Linked DNA regions of Homo sapiens: region 2 is linked to region 1. The links are contacts of gene promoters, found by promoter capture Hi-C in blood cells and fetal thymus (Javierre and others, 2016). All regions are on one chromosome and are shown on one strand. The core of a region is centred on a gene start or on the middle of the fragment in contact, and the rest is flanking DNA. Distances in the headings are between cores, read along the strand shown. Region 1 holds the start of COX4I2 (cytochrome c oxidase subunit 4I2). Region 2 overlaps BCL2L1 (BCL2 like 1).

What was found. The method cuts DNA at HindIII sites, captures the fragments that hold promoters and counts their contacts. A CHiCAGO score of 5 or more calls a contact.
Region 2: a fragment that was not itself captured here is called in contact with the fragment with the promoter of COX4I2 in region 1 in 11 of 17 cell types (megakaryocytes, M1 macrophages, erythroblasts and 8 more); the score reaches 10.1 in megakaryocytes.

Annotation. Positions count from the first base shown.
Region 1 is chr20:31,636,590-31,639,289 of GRCh38, reverse strand. It overlaps COX4I2 (cytochrome c oxidase subunit 4I2), which reads right to left and starts at 1,378. Exons shown (of 5, transcript NM_032609.3): 1 at 1,328-1,378; 2 at 191-272. The coding sequence starts at 272. RefSeq lists a silencer at 1,318-1,457. The HindIII fragment of the contact is 5,408 bases long and covers 1-2,700 here.
Region 2 is chr20:31,716,979-31,719,678 of GRCh38, reverse strand. The region is part of intron 2 of BCL2L1 (BCL2 like 1); the gene reads left to right. Among named protein-coding and RNA genes, the nearest start is that of BCL2L1, 4.5 kb to the left of the region's middle. RefSeq lists a silencer at 1,285-1,384 and an enhancer at 1,615-1,664. The HindIII fragment of the contact is 4,439 bases long and covers 1-2,700 here.

The sequences.
Region 1 (2,700 bases), core at 129-2,628:
TCTGCTCACCCCGCGCACTCCATTTCCTGGAGAAACTTGACCTTGGACCAAGGAGTGGGATCATGGGAACATGGGAAGTGTGGTAGGAACAGGCCCAGGGTGGCATGGAAGGGCAAAGGGGGCAGCCTGCAGAGGGGACCCCTGCCCCTATCTCTGGAGTTAGGCAGGGAGGAAGGAGTCCAGGTCTCACTGGTGCCTTCTGAGCTGTGCATCCCTCGTCTTCCACCTCCACCTTTCCTCAGCACCAAGCTCCAGGCAGCTCTGGGGAGCATCTGGGGGCGTGAAGGTATAGATGAGTTCTGCCCCCACATCACCCTCTGCCCCCAAACCGCAGGGCCAGATGGAAAAATCCTTTTCCACTGGTATGGTAGTGGTAGGGGTGTCCCAGTGTTTCAAGGTCACCCTCATGCCCTTGACCCTTCTAATTTTGTCTGATATCCCCAGCGGGGGGCCAATGGGGGTCCTAGACCTTTGAAGCCCCTTTTTGGGACCTCAATTCACCATCTGAGAAGTGGGAGGAGGCCTAAGTCTTGGGCCAGGGTCTGAAGAGTTTGAGGCTGAGGGCTTGGGTTCTGGTGCCAGCCCCAGCTCAGTCTGGCCAGATTGGAGAACCCCGCTCACTTGTTTGCTCCCCAGAGGAAGCTGGGTGGGGTCCAGGTGGAGAGGGAGCAGTTCTTGAGTCTCTCTTCCCTGCAGGGGCCAGAGGCCCCTGCACCGGCAGAACAGACAGACGGTCTGGCCCCCACCCCTTCCCCCCTAATTGGCTGCCTACGTGCACACAGGCCTGCTCTGCTGGATCTGGTTGGGGTGGGGACTGGGCTTAGCCAGTCTGGCTGAGCCCAGTCTCCCACCCCCAGGGAAGACTCAGGGTTTGGCATCCATGGTGGTGGGGAGGGGCTTTAGAGGATGGGGACTTAACTGGGTCAGAGGGAGGGAGACACACATCTGGGGAAAAGAAGGGGAGTCCCACATCTAGGGAGAGAGAGGGGCACCCAACAAATAGAGTGAGGGAGGGGGCACACTACAGGTGATAAGTGGGAGGGGGCGGCCCACACTTCTGGAAAAGAGGGGCTCCGGCCAGTGATTATGATTAGTGGGTGGGAGAGCTCCACATATCAAGAGAGGGAGGATGTAATCTATATTTGGGGAAAGAGATGGCACACATATGCAGACTCCCCAGGAGTCTTCAACTCTAACCTACAAGAAGCCCCCCAACCCTCTAAGACAGGGACCACTGGGGCGTGACCCAGCGGCGAAGGCAGGAGACCGAGCCGCGCCCCTGACCCGCGCGGGCTTGGGTGGCGGGGTCCTCCCCCAACTCACTCACCTCGCGGGCTCGGCAGTGGGAGCGCGACCTGGGTCTGCCCAGCGAGCAACTGAGAACCCGCTGCGGAGGGACCTGAGTGCGGGCGCCCGCCCCCGGCCCGCCCCACAGCCTTTCTCGGGGCCGCCCCAGCGTGGGAACGTCCTGCTTCGGCAGGGCGTGGGAGCGCACAGCCTGCGTCCCTGGGGGCACCCCGGCCCACAGATTGGGGGGAGGCACTGCAGAGCGCCTCCTGCATCAGTGTCCCTACCGGGGTCCTGCCTCTGGAGACCCTCTGCAGACAGTAGTCCCAAGAACAGGGTCTCCCTGCCTCCTCCACACCTCCCCTCCTTGCTGTTTCTCCCACCTGGGATGTTCTCTTCAGGCCTTTGCAGACGCAAACCTTCCAGCCAGGCCCAATGCCTCCTACTCCAGAAGCATCTTTTAGGCCAGCAGTGGCTCACGCCTGTAATCCTAGCACTTTGGGAGGCCGAGGCGGGAGGATCACCTGAGGTCAGGAGTTTGAGACCAGCCTGCCCAGCATGGCGAAACACCTTCTCTATTAAAAATAGAAAAATTGGGCGGGCGCGGTGGCTCATGCCTGTAATCTCAGCGCTTTGGGAGGCCAAGGCAGGCAAATCACGAGGTCAGGAGTTTGAGACAGCTTAGCCAACATGGTGAAACCCCATCTTTACTAAGAATACAAAAATTAGCTGGGCGTGGTGGCACGCACCTGTAATCCCAGCTACTCAGGAGGCTGAGGCAGGAGAATCGCTTGAACCCGGGAGGCGGAGGTTGCGGTGAGTCGAGATCCGGCTACTGCACTCTAGCCTGGGCAGCAGAGCTAGACTCCATCTCAAAAAAAAAAAAAAAAAAAAAAAAAGTTAGCAGGGCGTGGTGGCGCGCACCTATAGTCCCAGCTTCACAGAGGGCTGAGGCAGGAGAATCACTTGAACCTGGGAAGCGGCTGTTGCAGTGAGCCGAGATCGGGCCACTGCACTCCAGCCTGGGCAACAGAACAAGACTCTGTCTCAGAAAAAAAGAAAAAGAAAAAGAAAAAAAAAATTCCCAGCACTTTGGGAGGCCAAGGGGGGCAGATCATGAGGTCAGGAGATGGAGACCATCCTGGCTAACACAGCGAAACCCCGTCTCTACTAAAAATGCAAACAAAATTAGCCAGGCATGGTGGCAGGCGCCTGTGGTCCCAGCTACTCAGGAGGCTGAGGCAGGAGAATGGCTTGAACCCGCAAGGCAGAGGTTGCGGTGAGCCAAGATCATGCCACTGCACTCGAGCCTAGTGACAGAGCGAGACTCCATCTCAAAAAAAAAAAAAAAAAAAATAGACAAGGCTCAGGCACATTTATTCAAGAATTACTTATAAAACTGGGCGTGGTGGC
Region 2 (2,700 bases), core at 112-2,611, 80 kb before region 1:
GTTTATTAGATCTCCATGGGGTTGAAATTCCATCTTCCATCTCTTTGCTTAAGAATCATCAGAGCCTGTTGGACAACATACCACATGTCACTTCCTCTTGGTGAACAGAGGGGATGTGTGTGGAAGAGCCAGTTATATCAGAACCATTTCTGAGCACACATTCTCTCCCTAAGGCCAGGGAGTAAAGAACATTTGACTCAGGATCCTTTGAGCCTGGGTAGAAGGTACCCGCCCCCTTCCTCTCAGGTATTATCCTGTTCCAAGCTGCACCGACTGGCTACTGTGGTGGCATCGGGTAATTATCCTGGAGACTGCGGCTGGGAGATCCTTAAGGGTAGGAGTTATGGGCTATTCTACTCAGGGCTATGTTCTAAATTTAGCATCCCTACAGGAAAGGGGAAGGAAATTAGTCTTTATTGAGTACCTGTTAAGTACTAGGCACTGTGTTAGGTCCTCTACTTATGCAACCAGTGTTTCTTGAGCATCTACTGTGAAGCTAGCAGTGTACTAGGTGCTGGCCATAAGCCACGCATGGTACCTTCCTTCATGGAAACGGCATGCTGTTTCATATATTCTACAGTAACCTTCCAAGGAAGGTGAGTTTATTCCCAGTTTACACATGAAGGTCTTTGTGCCTAAGTGACTGACCCCAGGTGTCCCTCAGCCAGTTAAGTGTCTGAATGAGAATTTACACCAAGGTTGGCATAATTCTAAAGCCAACACTTTTCATCCTATCAAGTTGTCCAGGGAGTAATAAAGTGACCTAGACATGCTGGCCCAGAAAGCCAGAGATGCTGTTGGGCCAAGCAAACCATGCCTGTGAAGGTGCTCACTCTGGACTGATAACTGGCTTTGTTCAGGTAGCTATGGGAAGGATAGTTGGCAGTAGCAGGTTCCCAGAGGCGTGTTGGTAGCCTCAGATTCTGGCACTGGTAAAACTCAGACATGGCAGGTTTCAAGTGGGCATCAGGGTTTTGCCCAGAGTGAGCTGCTTATTAATTTTTTCTTTTTTTTTTTTTTTTTGAGACGGAGTCTCGCTCTTGTTGCCTAGGCTGGAGTGCAGTGGCGCGATCTCAGCTCACTGCAGCCTCTGCCTCCCGGGTTCAAGTGATTCTCCTGCCTCAGCCTCCCAAGTAGCTGGGATTACAGGCATGCGCCACCACACCTGGCTAATTTTGTATTTTTAGTAGAGATGGGGTTTCTCCATGTTGGTCAAGCTGGTTTCAAACTCCCAACCTCAGGTGATCCGCCTGCCTCAGCCTCCCAAAATGCTGGGATTACAGGCATGAACCACCGTGCCTGGCCCCGGCCAATTTTTTCATTGTTAAAACCCTCTCAGGCCCTGCCAATAGATGACAGTGGTGTGCGTGTGGGGAGAAGGTGGCCTGCCCCAGGTATCTCTACTTAGTGGTGGAGTGATGCTTCAAGGACTGAAAGTGTAGACCCTTAGCCAGATTACTGCCTGCCTGGAGTCACCTGATGAAATGCTGAACCTGTTCGGCTGTCTTGTCCATCTGTCTCTCCCGCCTGTAAAATGGAATAATGATAGCCAGCTGCCATAGCTTGACTCGAGTAAAGGATCTAGCACAAAAGCCCTTCTCCTGCCATAATTGTAGGGTGGAAACCCTTTAATGAATGGGCAGCTTCCCTCAGAGAACTGACTCTTCCCCCTAGAGTTTCTCCTTGAGAAACAAAGTCCCTGTGATACTTTCCTGGAATGTTGTATACATGACCTTCCCCGAAGGGACACAAGTGTTTCTGGTGCTTTCCAATGGGAATGTGGGAAGGGACCCAGGTGGGCCTTGCCACTTTGGGATTGCTGTCCCTGAAGAAATCCCTTAGCCTGATAGAAACGTAATTGTTGGGAGCAATGAACTGTGTTGGGGGAGAAAACATAACTTGGCCTTTCTTAAGCTGTATGGCTCAGTGGTCTGAGTTTCTGTAGATCTCTTATTGCCTAATGTGGCTTCTTCAGATGGATGTATGCTTAGTTGAAGCACCTCAGCTCCCTTTGCAGATAGTGGCAGTTCTGTGGTTTTCTTAGGGAAACCCCATTAGAAACCCCAAATGTGGAAATTTTTAGTAATCTCATTCGGGTCCCAAAATTAAGTAGAAGTGTCTCAGGGGCTCCCCCTTGAAACACCTACTTCTTCTGAGTGTACATTTGAGGTTGCTCTTAAAATTCTGTTACCATCACAGGGTTTTCCAGACTTCCTAGGAATAATTTCCCCAGTAGCCCCACAGAGCCCTTTAGCTTCTGTCGAAAATTACCCGGGTATTTTTTCAGGGGGCTCCAATGGAACCTGGAGGGTTTTCTTGACTTTTGTATGGGTGTCCCCAGATTTGTTTGGGCTGCATGAAACAGCAGTTGTTATCTCTGTCCCTTCCCCCAGCAGATATCTGTCCTGAGGCCAGTGGGCTTGAGCGTCCTCCTCTGTGTCCAGTCTCCCTGGTTTTGCCAGTGCCCTCAGCCTTCCATCATGGGGCTTTCTTGAAGCAACTGTGGTTTTGCCTGAGTTTAATGTGGATAGACATAGGGGTAATTCCCAGTGTACTGCTTTTCTACGGAAGTATAATCTCCTACTGCCTTAATTAAGCAGAGGCCCTGTCCCCACCCAACCTCCAACCTAATTCCACAGAGTCCTCCCTAAGGACTCCCTCTTTTTTCTTTGAAGGAGTCACTCTACTCCTGGATCCTCT